Regions from separate parts of the Homo sapiens genome. Here region 2 is linked to region 1. The links are contacts of gene promoters, found by promoter capture Hi-C in human tissues and cell types (Jung and others, 2019). All regions are on one chromosome and are shown on one strand. The core of a region is centred on a gene start or on the middle of the fragment in contact, and the rest is flanking DNA. Distances in the headings are between cores, read along the strand shown. Region 1 holds the start of SH3BGRL2 (SH3 domain binding glutamate rich protein like 2). Region 2 has its middle 150 kb from the start of TENT5A.

Region 1 (7,627 bases), core at 3,664-6,163:
CAAAGAGGAGAGATGAAGGATGTATCATTGCCTCTATTACCTCATCGGGTTCCAGTCTTCAAGACACTGCAATCTAGCTTCTGTCTCTACCCCTCTACTGGAAGCACTCTCACAGAGGTCAGTAATGATAATAAACTACTATCATAATAACAGCTAGTGCTTCTTGTGGATTTATTGGGTGCCAAACCCTGGGCTCAGTGCTTTACAATGGAGAGAGAAACCTGGATGCCCATAGGGCTGTGCCTGTAGATGGTGAGTTTAGTAAGCAAACCTGAGTTTACTGGGCTCGGTTTTTAAAAATCAAGCCAACATGCAAAAACCAGAATACTTCAGCTACAGTCCTCATGGTGCCCACCCTATGCACAAAGTGAATATATATGCACTTGGATCTTCCTCACCTCTCTAATCAATATCACCTGCCTGATCCCTAAAGAAGCATGAGTTACTACCCATGCTTTACATAGGTATTCTGGTCAGGATTTAATAGTTGAAAGAAAATAGACGCACTTAAACTAGCTCAAGATAAAGGAGGGGGATTATGAAACAGCAACTCAAGGGCAGGAACCACGGCAGACTTGGATTCATGAAAACTGAGACTGGAAGCAAGACAGCTGTCAGCCTCCTTGTTAGTGTCTCAGCTTCTCACTACATAGTGACTCTATTTCCCCGGGCCACAGACTAGCTTCCTCTTTTTACTCATTTCAGTCCCTTCATTGCCTCAACTTGCTCAAAGCTTCTCATCCCAATCCTATCCCAGCCTCATACCATCCCCCTTTATTCTATTGCTAACTGCCTTAGTCTTTAAATTTTCTAACTATAAATTCCTAAAAGAGGAATTTGAAGGACCTGCATGTATTTTCCGACCTGGTCACATATGTTGTAAATTTCAAGCTGCAATAGGTCATGCCGGGGGAAGAACACAAATGTGGTCCAAATATTCCAAATATCTGTGACCAGGTAGCCTGAGAGTTTCCTTTAGAAGGGCTGTGGGTTGACAGGCACCGTATGGCATAACTTAAATAATATCCTAAAGGTAGTCAATTATCATTAGAATATTGATTGATAGCCATTGTTGATACCCATTTTATAGACAAGAAACTTGAGGCTTATGGAGGTGATGAAATTTGCCAAAGGAGAGTCTCATTTTCAATATAATCTTTCTTGACTTTCAGGCTAACATTCTTAGATAGTCTCTACATTTTGAAACTTAAAATTCTTCTCTTGGTTTCTGTGACAGCATACTCTTTCAGTTTTGTACTATTCTGGTTGCTCTTCTACTATTTTTAATTCCTCATTCTTTTTCCAATTCTTAAGTGTAGGAGATCTCCAAGGGACTCTTCATGGCTCCTTCTTGTCTCTTTCCATGTTTTCTTCTTAGGCAAAATAATAGGCTTCTGTAGATTTAGATATATTCAGACATCATGATTTCTTAACCTGGGGTTCTTGGATCTCCCCTCACCCCCAGCCTAAAGGGACTTGATAGAATTTAGGGGGTTCATGGACTTGAATGAGAAAAAAAATCACATCTTTATCTTTTCACTAAACTCTAACTGAAATTTACCAATTCCTTCAATTATGAAAGTAGTTAAGCCATTGTAATAGCAACAACACTGTGACTTTGTTACCAATAGAAATCACAGGCATTTTCATATTTTCCAATGATTGCAAATATCTCAAAATTTTATCTTTTCCCATTACTACTTCAAAATCATGACGGCCGTTTGATCCACCAATCTTAATATTTAATACATTAATAAAGAATCATACATATTATCATATCAAAATTTTAACATTTTGGTAATTGTTTTGCAGTATAGTTTCCTTTGTAACCTTATACTTTCAAATTTTCTATATTTAGAAACTTTTTTTTTTTGAGAAACCACCGATAGATTTCATCAGACTACTAAAGGGTCCTTGGCACTCCTCTTACTCCCACAAAAAAAAAAGGTCAAGAACCCCTACTTTAAAACATTCTAGCCATATGGTCTACCAGGACTTGTAAAGGGGATAAAGTCCTAGGCAACATGGGAGCCACTTTCTTCAAGCCTAATGACCTGCTCAATTTTCTTAGTCTCATCTTTCAGTTTTGGCTACCCGCTCTATCTGTAGACCTTATTTGTCAGATTGGCATCTAATACTCTCTGTGGTCTGATAAGCTGGTGTTGATCTTGGACCTCTATCTTATATCCTAGATTGCATTCTGCTCTCAGGTACTCTTCCACTTTGTTTACCAACTCTGGGTCTCAACTCCATACCGGCCTTGCTGTTTTACTGGATTGCTAACATATTTTCTCCTGCATACAAGGTCAAAAGGTGAACCTTTTCATTCAGGGTGGAAAAAATAGAGGATTCTTCTTGAAGTATAATTCTGATTATATCCTTCTGTTCCTCAGAATGCATTTGGACACAGAGCGCTTATGAATTTCTCAGGGCACTTTTGGTTCCATGAAACAAAACCTATTTCAGGTGGCTTAAGCAAGATGAGGAACTTACAGATATAGGGATATTACACAGCCCTCAAGAGCAGGGATATAGGAACAGGTTGAACAGGATCAGAGATTGGCAAACTTTTTCTGTAAAGGCCAGATGTAAATGTATTAGGCTTTGTGGGCCATACGACCTCTGTCAGTCTACCATAGACAATACCAAGAGGAATGTGTTCCAATAAAACTTTATTTACAAAGCAGGTAGCCACGTGCATTTGACATACAGGTCATAGTTTGAGGACCCTTAGATTACAGTATTGTCAGGACTCTTTCTAAAACTTAGAGCTATTATCTCCAACTCTTTTTTACAAATTCTCTGTTGTTCTCTTTCTACTGACTAGCTTCTTCAGCTTCTCTGATTCTCATGTTGGAAGCTCTGAGCTTCCATGTCACAAATTCAAGCTCTCTTGTTTTCCCAGTTCCAATTCTGAATCTTTAGGGTAGAAATGTTGCTTGGCCTTGCTTGGCTTAGGTGCTCACTCCTAGATCAATAAGCTGTGGTCAGAGGGTTAGGCCCTGCTGTATGTACAGGGCTTGGGGGACCCTTACAACCTCTAGGATCAGAGGAAAGGAGCAGAAATCCCAAGGAGCTGAGCAGATAACCCAGTGAGAAAGTCCTTTGTTGGCATTCATTCAAACCTACTTTTTCAGCATTGTCCTCTACTAGTTCCCTCATATTCCTTTCTGAAGCAAAACCAACTCCTTGCTGTTCTCCTCACACACCCTGAATAGTCTCACCCTGCATCCTCCCTATCTGCAGACAGAAATTCTACTCATCTTTAAAGTACCTTCTATGGCCACCTTTTTCCTTTACATCCACACAACACTGTATTAGTACAGTGTGTCTTGTTCTGTCACTATTTCTGTATCTGTCTTTTTCTTTCCTAGACAATAGGTGCTCTGCTGACAGAGAAATGACTCGTTCAACTTTTTATCCATTCTTGTACCTTTCACAGAGTAGGCTCTGAGTTCCAATTATTTGAGTTTAACTATATCTTCATAGCTGAATAATTCCAAACTGAAGAAAATGCTGACTTTTATAAAGATTTGCATTTATATAGGAAATACGGTATCTACTTTTAAGAAAATTATTTTCTATTTTATAAACGTGCATTTCCACATTTATGGTAGCAAAATTAAAGTACATTTGCCGAGAGATACTAAAGACAGCAAAACTTCTATTTAAAATTTTAAACACGAAGAAGAAATAAAGTCCCATTAGGAGTGTCTCTTCTATTATTGAAGGAAATTTAAAAAGATTCCTACTACAGAAATGGCTTTAAGAAAAGCAATAGGAAAGGTTATAAATTTGAAATATTCATAACTGTTCTAAAAAATACTTCATAATGATTGCTCTTTGTGCAAGAAATGTATCAAAGAGCCAGAGACCTCATCATCTAATTTCTTACTTTTTCTTAATTAACATTGTTCCCAGACCTCTGCTAAACTCCCGTGTTGAAAGGAAAAAAGTAAATACAGTACAGCAGGGAAAACTGGTTCCTTTCGACAAAACTGAGAGAGAGGCTTGAGCTTTTGTCAAACAGAAAGCACTTGATAAAAAACTATTCCTAAACTATTAGCAACTATATAGAAGCTTTTTATTTAACAGCATCCTCCTGGGAAACTGCGCTGGAATGTGCAGCGGTTCTGAAAAAGGCACAGATTTGGCTGAACTGTAAATATTAGGTGCACAGAGGCGAAGCCATTGTGTAGGGAGGGGTGGGGCAGGTAGGGTCCTGATTTCCAATGTTGATAGAAGGATTCCAATTTCGTTTGGTATTTATTTTTTTCTACTACAATTACAGTTTTGCTGAGAAAAATAAAATATTGGTTGTGCTTCCATCTGGGTTTCTAATTTTCAGTGTGTACAGACAAGAGAAGACCTCTCATTTACCCAAAAGAATCACCTTTCTGCAATCTCCAGTGCTACTGGACAAACAAACGAGCCCAACCCCACCGCCCACACCTCCCAAGCACCCGGCTCGCCGATCCCGCCTGCTTCAGGTAGCTGGGGTTTGCCCGGTACGCCAGCGGCCCTGAGACGATGTGTGCCCGCAGCACGATCGTGTCTGTTGGCATTTCTGGGTGTGGATGCTCCAAACCAATAAACCACAATACAGAACCCAAGCTTGGACTTTGAACCGAGCCCTTTTGCCTAGTTTGCTTTTTCCTCATCAAGCCAGGATCCTTGCCAACCCACCTCACAGCTTCTGCCCGGGCTGTGGCTCCCCTCCAGCCACCTGCGCGTGTTCGGGATAGAAGCGCGGTCAGGAGGGGAGCTCAGTCCACCAGCCACTCCAGGGAGAGACGGAAACTACAAATCCCATCAAGCCCCGCAGCCGGCTCCCTCCTCCTCCCTCTCCTTCCCCTTCAGCCTGCGGCCGGGCGGCGCTGGGCTTTTATCTGCGGACCCGCCGGGAGGGAGCCAGATCCCAGCGATCTTCCCCGACGGCAGCGCTTTACCCAGAGGCTGCCGGCGGCTCGTAGCTGGGTTCAGCTCTGCGTCCACGCCAGCCCGGAGCCCGGGGGGCAAGGGGTCTGTCCCGGGCGCAGCGAGAGGATGGTCATCCGCGTGTTCATCGCCTCTTCCTCGGGCTTCGTGGCGGTGAGCGCGGTGGGGGCGGGCAGTAGGTTGGGGTCGCGGGGCGCGGGTCCTGCGGGAGGCGCGCGGCGCTCGTCACTGCGCGTCCTTGCGCTCAGCCGGTCCGCCCGCGGGAGCCCGCGCCCGGCAGGTGATCCATCACACTCCGACAACAATGAAGAGGGCGGGGAGGAAAGGTGGGTGGGGGACCCCGGCCTCACCCAAATGCCCACCCTGCGTGGCCTGAAAGGCAGACAACGCGGCCTGAAAATGGAGTCCGAGGGAAGCCCCCAGCTCCTGTTGTGTGGCATGGAAATTTGGGGAACGGGTTGTTCAAGAGCTTCGGGGATCCCCCTTCCCCTAGTTTAGTTCTTCCCGATTTGGGACCTTCAGACTGGTTATGTTTTGCACGGGAGCCTTTTCTGCTGCTTTGGTTTGTTACCCTAGCTCCTGAATGAAGCAAGTTTAAGTGGGAATTGCTCTCTGTCCTCCCTTCCCCGCCAGCAAGTGCATTTGTTTAGTTTTATACCTGCGCAAAGAGAATAGTAAAACTAGGTTTGTCCTGTTGTGGTAGGATTGTTTGCTTTCACTGTCATTTTTTTTCTTAGGGTGCCATAAATATTTTTACATCTTTATGTAAATGTGTGTGTATGCACGCATTTTCTTTCCACCTGTAATGCTGTGGAAATTTTATCCTGGGGATCTATGAATTGTGGTTTTCTATTTAATTATTTTTAGCTATTCTCTTTGGTGGATGTTCTTGAATTTTTTTAGAGAAAAAAAATTTTTTTAAAGAAAGGAAAGTTAAATAGCTAGAGATGTCAGAATTTAAGGAAAATTCAGTAGTTAGTATATTTGACAGCCCACTAAGGGACATAGCACATGTGTTTTACATGATTATTGAGACTTGGTTTCCTTAACCAAGAGTTCAGCTATAGATTTAAGAGCCTCCTTTGTGACATATATAATCAAGTAACATCAAAAAGTGCATTGTAGATTGCTTAAATTTGGTCTGGTCAATTGTCTGCCCAGTAGCTCAGTCAGATTGTTCCAAAATTTGTTTCTTAAGTGGGTGGAGTGGAGGATGGAATAAAATATTGTTTGAAAATCCTTGTACACCACTGAAGTTTTTTATTTAAAAAGAAACCAACACGATCATACAAAGCCCCTCCACCCCCATTTGCACTAGAAACAATAGATGGGAAAATCCAACTTACACTTATGTGCAGTCATGTTGGGGTCCTCAGACTTCTGACAGTTTCTGGTGTTTCTAGCTATTTGGGTTGCTTAGTCATGCCTGCCTTTTGTAGATTTCCCCACTGAAGCCACACTTCATGTGTTTGCAAACTGGCACTGTTTCAAGGGTAGATTTGTTCAAATGCACTCCTTACTAAGAATGCTACAAAGCTCTTGGTTTCACCACCGACTTGCATGCTTCAATAATTGTCCCAATAGCATTATATTGATTATGGAAGGAATGGTTTTTATCCCTTCCACAAGAGATAAAGCCTAGGCTACTTTGGAGCAAGTCGGACCAAGTCAAGGTAATGACTTGGCTTACTCTATTAGTAGGTAGTATATTGAGATAGTTTTGGTACTCCACATCTTTGTTTTTTCAGTGCCATTGGCAAATATTTATTGCCTGCCTGCTGTGTGCCTTTTTAACTTTTAAATTTAATGTTTTGTGTTTTGCACATGGAGCTAAAATTAAGAGACTTAAGTTTTAGTGTGGGCCCCAACTAGTGCAGTGTAAGCCTGGTTAAGGTACCTCATCTCTGCCTGAGTTTCTCTTCTGTAAAATGAAGGATTTTCATGGATAACTCAGAATTGCACACTCTAGCTTTAAAGTATTTTGACTTCACCAGGTGAGTAAATATGGATGAATCCTTATAACAGCTTCTTTTGCTTGAACAATATACCTACCTATTAGTCTCAAGGTAATAGGTATACCTATACCTATTAGTATAATACCTATTAGTATAATAATATACCTATTAGTCTTCTTTCCTTGGACATTTTATTGTGAAGGCTCAGATCCCCTCAATGCCCTGCCTCGTAGCATGTGTTCTGACATGGTTTCATTTGAGTTAGAAGACATACACAGTTACCACATGCTTACAGACTATAAACACTAATTATCTATTTTAATATTCTGCTGTTTGAAGACCCAGTCTTTTCAGGTTTTAGAAAATCCTTGTTTGTTCAGTCTCCTCAATTATATCTTATATCAATACAGTTATTCATTGAGTCTCCCCAATTGTAGTTTTATCTCCTATATCAGTACACAGTTTATCTGTAATATCCATACTTTTAGTGATGTTAAGGTTATGTTCATATGTAAGAATAATGATTTCTAAGAACCAGTGAGGATATTTAGGTCAATTCTTGGGCTGGCGAGGCTAATGGGGCCAGTAGCATTAAGCTATATTAAGCTTTAGTGGCGTAGCCATGATGTGTTCCCTCCAGAAGTGTTGGGTTGACTGTTGATAGTGTTTCATTTGGTACCCAACTGTGACGAGCAAGTGCATGGGAGAACAAATAATTTGATTCTTGAGTCAGT
Region 2 (7,627 bases), core at 1,337-3,836, 2.0 Mb after region 1:
CTGTAGGCCTCTATATTATACCACACTACATATTTCTGTCTGCTCAGGTGCCTCCTACTTAGAATAGAGGTTTCTAAAGGGCAAACAAGCACTACTTTTATTATTTACTTTAGCCTTCATATCCAACAAAGTGGTTGATCTCATAGAGACATTCAGCACATTTTTTTTTGTTTTTTGTTTTTGTTTGTTTGTTTGTTTTTCAATGAGGGAGTTAAAAAATGAAAATTTGAAGAAAAAAAAAGAAGCTTAAAAGAACCATCAAGTAGAATTGCTTGAGGACAATCTCTTGGAACATTATCCATCCATAAGGATAAGCAATACACTACCATTACTAGGACTGAAGTTTTTGAAAACATAACAATCAAAAAATAGCTGTCTAGCTCTCAGACCTTAACTTAGGCTCATCTTAAGAATGTAAACATGGAATTGTACTTAATAAGAGTTGAGAAGAATGTTTACTAATTTTGTCTTTCAGTTCACTTCTTACTCATGTTCTCATTCTGTTACGGATTTTTTCCCACACCTATAATTTACTTGGACAAGACTTTTTGACCAACAGCAAGAAATGTATTTTTTGGTCTCAATGAGTACTGACAGCAGAACCTCGTGGCTTCTGTTTAAAGAATGTCATTAGCATAAATGAGAGGGCACAAAGGTAGGGGCCAGCCAGCCCACAGTGGGCCTTAAGCAATGTTAAAGGTTTGGGTCTTTCTCCTAGAAGAATACAATGGAAGCCAACAAAAATGTAAAGCAGTTGATTGACATGATCAAATTCGCATTTTTAAAAGGTTACTCTGATAGCATGGTGGAGAATGAATTGGAGAAACCAATGTATTTTGAAAAACTTTGTTTAACGCTGGGGGTTTTAGCTTCTGAAGTATTATTATTTCCTCTTGGTCTTAATCTAGTTTTCTGCTAAGACCCACCTGGCATGTGTCTGAGGGGTGACATGACAGAAATCCACCCCTTCTATATTTTCTATAACCATACTCCAAGTTACCATCTACCAGATAACACAATACCCCTTGTAAAGTATCCATGTAATAAATTTCTCCCAAAATTTAGGGGAAAGGAAAGCCCTGGCCATATACTATAGATGTTCACCTATCCCCACAATATGATACTGTATAATACATAATCTGGAATTTTCCTAGAGTTGTTACTGAAGTATTAACTTTGTCTCAATTAACATATAACCTTCCTACCAGCAGGAACGATGCCTTTTAATTTTCTGGTATCCATAATAATGCTTAACAGAATGTTAAGACACACATAATGCATGATATATGTTTTTAAACTGAAAAACAAATAATCATAATTCTGATGAAGTAATATGAGATAATATAAAAGCAAAGCTAGAACTATGAAATAAATCAACTTAGCTATTTGAACAGAGATGAAAAACAAACAGTCATTCTAGAAGAGAAAGATCACTTCAAATTCTTCATACTGCTAATCCCATTCTCTGGAGACTGAGAATTCATCTTTTGGCAGCGCAAATAAGCTGAAAAAATTGTAAAGAACAGGCCCACATATCTCATTAATTAATTACAGTTGCATAAGCTTTTATTGGTCCAACCACCTCCTGTTTAATTTTCCTGCAGGCCCTTGCAGTACAGAAAAGTGATGCTTTACCTAAAAAATACATTTCTTTGAGGTTGTTCTCATTTTACAAATAAGAGAAATCAAATGTCCTCATCAAAGTCCCCCAGCTAGTAGAATAGTATAACAGGGACTCGGCCCTAGGTTTACCTGGCTTCAAAACCTGTCTTTTTCCCACTGTACTTTTCTGTCTTCCTAGAATAAAATTTAAAATAAGTGGTGGGGATTCAGGTAAAACTGACCTGTGCTATTGCTATAATTTATTGAGCACAAAAACTTCACCAAAGAAATAATGGCTGCATGAAGCTGAAATGAGAAAAAAATAATTCCTCTCTTGCTATATGTTTTTGTAGAATTTGAAGTACTCACATGAAAGTACCTGTAATATGTTGTAGTTCTCCAATACCCTTGAGATGAACATGTGAGCAGGTTTTTTATCATCCAAGTGTAGCCTCTTCTCTAGGAGCCAAGCAAGGCAGAGAAGTGCCCAGTGTGAGCTCAAGGCTCTGCAGATGAAGTCCATGAACCAGGTGAAGGGGGTACTTAAAGCAAGGGAAAGTCCAAAGCATCAAGTCCAAAGGGAAGTAGATGGAAGACAACTATCAGATTAAAGCCAAAGGGACTCTGGACCTCAGTTTCCTTATCTGTGACATGAAGATGATAAGAGATTTAGTGATTAAAAGAAAGACTGTATGTAAAACACATAAAATAATGACCTGATCAATAATTCTTAGCTATTACATTGACACAGAACAGGCAAGGTTTAATAAATGGAATTCAGAAGTCAAGGCTAGAAAATCTCAGAAACAGGATTTGTGTAAAGGCACAAGACTGAAAAGGCAGTTCAAGATGACAGAGAAAAAGAAAAACAGCATTACTTTGCAATGTCAGTGCAAAAGATGAGAGCAGTCTTTATCCCTGTCATTCTGACTCTCCTCCCCATGCATATCCAAGCAAGCTTCAGAAGTAGCATCACTCCCTTGATAAGTTGCCTAACCCTAATCAGTGCTATTAACAGAAATTACACTAAAATTTTACCCATAATAGCTAACACTGAGTGAGTTGTTCCAAACAGAAATTTTAAGAGTCAGCTCATAACTGACCAGGTTCTCTTCCTCTCTCTGATGACCATGGATGCACGTATGGCAGTGGAGCCCCCATAAGCCTGGGCCCTTGAGTGGCCATGATGTGCAGAGTCCCCCTGCAGACTGCAACATTCATGCCACATACACTGAGAAATAAGCTTCTGTTGTTATAAACCACTTAAATGTGGGATTGCTTATTACTGTAGAATATTCTAGTGGAGGGATTCTCAAAATGTGGTCCTGAACCAGCAGCATCGGCATCACTGGAAAACTTACTAGAAAGGCCAGTTCTTGGATTTCACCTTAGAAGTACTGAATCAGAAAGTCTGGGGATGGGGCTCAGACACCTGATTTTTCAAAGTTTTACTTAATTTTTAACTAACAAATAATACTTGTGTATATTTATGAGATACAGTGCAATGTTTGAAACGTATACATTGTAAAATGATCAAATCAGGAATAATTAGCATATTCATCATTTCAAATATTTGTCATTTAATTGTGATGAGAACATTTAAAATCCTCTGTTTTAGAAGATTGAAGCTTCTTCTTTATACCATATACAAAAATCAACTCAAGATGGATTAAAAGACTTAAATGTAAAACTCAAATCTATAAAATCCCGGAAGACAACCTAGGCAATACCATCCTGGACACAGGAATGGGCAAAGATTTCATGACAAAGACACCAAAAGCAATCACAACAAAACCAAAAATTGACAAGTAGGATTTAATTGAACTTAAGAGCTTCTAAACAACCCCATAAAAATGTGGACAAAGGACATGAACGGACACTTTTTAAAAGACGACATACATGTGGCCAACAAACATATGAAAAAAATCACTGTTCACTTAATATCACTGTTCATTAGAGAAATGCAAATCAAAACCACAATGAGATGCCATTTCACATGAATCAGAATGGTTACTATTAAAATGTCAAAAAAATAACAGATGCTGGTGAGGTTGCAGAGAAAAGGGAACACTTATACACTATTGGTGGGAGTGTAAATTAGTTCAACCCTTGTGGAAAGCAGTATGGCAATTCCCCAAAGAGTCAAAAGCAGAACTATCATTTGACCCAGCAATCCCATTACTGGGTATATACCCAGAGGAATGTAAATCACTCTACCGTAAAGACACATGCATGCGAATGTTCGTTACAGCACTATTAACAATAGCAAAGACTTGGAATCAACCTAAATGCCCACTGATGAGAGATTGGATAAAGAAAATGTGGTACATGTACATCATGGAATACTATATGCCATAAAAAAGAACAAGATCATTTCTCATGCAGGAACATAGATGGAGCTGGAGGCTATCATCCTCAGCAAACTAATTCAGGAAGAGAAAACCAAATACCATGTGTTCTTACTTATAAGCAGGAGCTAAATGATGACAACTTATGAACACCAAGAAGGGAATGACAAACACTGGGGTATACTTGAGGGTGGAAGGTGAGAGGAGGGAGGGGAGGAGAAAAGGTAACTATTGGGTATTGGGCTTAATTCCTGGGTGATGAAATAATCTGTACAACAAACACCTGTGACATGAGTTTACCTGTGTAACAAGCCTTCACATGTACCCCTGAACATAAAATAAAAGTTAAAAAAAATAAATAGTAAAACCTATCTTACATGAGAAAATCATAAAATAAGGTCTTCTATTTTAGCTATTTTGAAATATACATTAACTATAGTCACCATACTTTGCAATAAATCACCAGAACTTATTCCTTGTATCTAATTGAACCTTTGTATCCTTTGATCAATATCTCCTCTTTTCCCCAAGCTCCTGGTAACCACCATTTTACTCTCTACTTCTATGAGTTTGATTTATTAAAATTTCACATATATATATAAAATCATATAGTATTTGTCTCTTTGTGCCTGGCTTATTTCACTTAGCATAATATCCTCTAGTTTCACCCCTACCTTCCTGAATGACAGGATTTTCTGCTTTTTAAAGGTTGAGTAATATTCTATTGTATATGTACACATCACTTTTTTTAATTGATTCATCTGTTAATGGGCACTTTAGTTATCTTCATTTGGCTATTGTGAATAGTGTTACAATGAATATACAAATGTAGTCAACTCTTTAACATATTGGCTTTATTTCTTTGGATATATTCTCAAAAGGGAGATTGCCGGATTATATGTTAACTCTATTTTTAGTTTTTTGAGGAAGCTCCACATCATTTTCCAAAATGGTGATATTAATTCGCAACACTGCCAACGGTGCACAATGGTTCCTATTTCTCCACATTCTCACCAGCACTTGCTTTCTTTATTCTTTTTGTTCGTAGCTAATCTAACAGGTATGATGTGTTACCTCATTGTGCTTTTAATTTGCATTTATCTGATGATTAGAAATGTTGAGCACCTTTTCATACACCTGTTGGCCATTTTTTTTGAAAAATGTCTATTCAGGGTTTTTTTGTCCATTTTTAATTGCATAATTTTTGTTTTGTTTTGTCTTATTTTGGTTTTTGCTAGAGTTGAATTTCTTGTACATTTTGAATATTAACCACTTTTTCAATGTATGATTTGCAAATATGTTCTCCCAATATGTGAATCACTTCTTCACTCAGTTGTTTCCCCTGATGTGCAAAAGCTTTTGAGTTTAGTGCAATCCCATCTGTCAGATACCTGTGTTTTTTTATTTTTTTTATTTTTATTTTTATCTTACTTTAACTTCCAGGATACATGTGCAGAATGTGCAGATTTGTTACATAGGTATATGTGTGCCATAGTGGTTTGCTGCATCTATTGACCTGTCATCTAGGTTCCCTCCCTGTGCCCCCTACCCCTCAACAGGCCCCAGTATGTGTTGTTCCCCTCCCTGTGTCCGTGTGTTCTCATTGTTCAACTCCCACTTATAAGTGAGACCATGAAGTGTCTGGTTTTCTGTTCCTGTGTTAGTTTGCTGAGAATGGTGGCTTCTAGCTTCATCCATGTCCCTGCAAGGGATATGATCTCATTCCTTTTTATGGCTGCATAGTATTCCATGGTTTATAGGCATCACATTTTCTTTATCCAGTCTATCATTGATGGGCATTTGGGCTGGTTTCATGTCTTTGTTATAGTGAATGTAAATAAACATACATGTGCATGTGTCTTAATAGTAGAATAATTTATATTCCTTTGGGTATATACCCAGTAATGGAACTGCTGGGTCAAATGTTTTTCTGGTTCTAGATCCTTGAGGAATCACCACGCTGTCCCACTGACACCACAGAAATACAAACCACCATCAGAGAATGCTATAAACACCTCTATGCAAATAAACTAGAAAATCTAGAAGAAATGGATAAATTCCTGGACACATACACCCTCTCAAGACTAAACCAGGAAGAAATCGAATCCCTGATTAGACCAATAACAAGGTCTGAAATTGAGGCAGTAATTAATAGCCTACCAACCAAAAAACTCCCAGGACCAGATGGATTCACAGCTGAATTCTAACAGAGGCACAAAGAGGAGCTGGTACCATTCCGTCTGAAATCATTCCAAGCAATTGAAAAGGAGGGACTCCTCCCTAACTCATTTTATGAGGCCAGCATCATCCTGATACCAAAACCTGGCAGAGACACAACAAAAAAAGAAAACTTCAGGCCAATATCCCTGATGAACATCTATGCAAAAATCTTCAATAAAATACTGGCAAACCAAATCCAGCAGCACATCAAAGAACTTATTCACCACAATCAAGCGGGCTCCATCCCTTGGAAGCAAGGCTGGTTCAACATATGCAAATCAATAAACATAATCCATAACATAAACAGAAGACAAAAACCACATGATTATCTCAACAGATGCAGAAAAGGCCTTTGATAAAATTCAACATCCCTTCATGTTAAAAACTCAATAAACTGGGTATTTGGGCATGGTGGGTCATGCCTGTAATCCCAGCATTTTGGGAGGCCCAGGCGGGCAGATGACAAGGTCAGGAGATCAAGACCATCCTGGCTAACATGGTGAAACCCTGACTCTACTAAAAATACAAAAACAAAAAGAAATGATCTAGACATGGTGGCAGGCTCCTGTAGTCCCAGCTACTCAGTAGGCTGAGGCAGGAGAATGGCATGAACCTGGGAGGCAGAGTTTGCAGTGAGCCGAGATCGTGCCACTGCACTCCAGCCTGGGAGACAGAGCAAGATTCTGTCTCAAAAAAAAAAAAAAAAAAAAAACAAAAAAACAAACAAAAAAAAACCTCAATATACTGGGTAGTGATGAAACATATGAGCTGTTTATGACAAATCCACAGCCAATATCACATTGAATCGGCAAAAGCTGGAAGCATTCCCTTTGAAAACCAGTACAAGACAAGGATGCCCTTTCTCACCACTCCTATTCAACGTAGTATTGGAAGTTCTGGCCAGGGCAGTCAGGCAAGAGAAAGAAATCAAGAGTATTCAAATAGAAAGAGAAGAAGTGAAATTGTCTTTGTTTGCAGACGACATGATTCTATATTTAGAAAACCTCATCGTATCAGCCCAAAACTTAAGCTGATAAACAACTTCAGCAAAGTCTCAGGATACAAAGTCAATGTGCAAAAATCACAAGCATTCATATACACCAACAATTGACAAGCAGAGATCCAAATCATAAATGAACTCCCATTCACAATTGCTACAAAGATAATAAAATACCTAGGAATACAGCTAACAAGGGATGTGAAGGACTTCTTCAAGGAGAACTTCAAACCACTGTTCAAGGAAATAAGAGAGAACACAAACAAATAGAAAAACATTCCATCCTCATGGATAGGAACAATCAATATCATGAAAATGGCCATACCTCCCAAAATAATTTATAGATTCCATGCTATTCCCATTAAACTACCATTGACATTCTTCACATAATTAGAAAAAACTACTTTAAATTTCACATGGAACCAAAGAAGAGCCCGTATAGCCAAAACAGTCCTAAGCA

The links. Contacts are between HindIII fragments. The study calls those that stand out against the background at their distance.
Region 2: a fragment that was not itself captured here is called in contact with the fragment with the promoter of SH3BGRL2 in region 1 in 1 of the 25 tissues and cell types used here (dorsolateral prefrontal cortex).

The regions. Positions count from the first base shown.
Region 1 is chr6:79,626,416-79,634,042 of GRCh38, forward strand. SH3BGRL2 (SH3 domain binding glutamate rich protein like 2) reads left to right here and starts at 4,914. Exons shown (of 4, transcript NM_031469.4): 1 at 4,914-5,091. The coding sequence starts at 5,047. The HindIII fragment of the contact is 5,139 bases long and covers 4,348-7,627 here.
Region 2 is chr6:81,596,999-81,604,625 of GRCh38, forward strand. No RefSeq gene overlaps it. Among named protein-coding and RNA genes, the nearest start is that of TENT5A, 150 kb to the right of the region's middle. The HindIII fragment of the contact is 3,364 bases long and covers 905-4,268 here.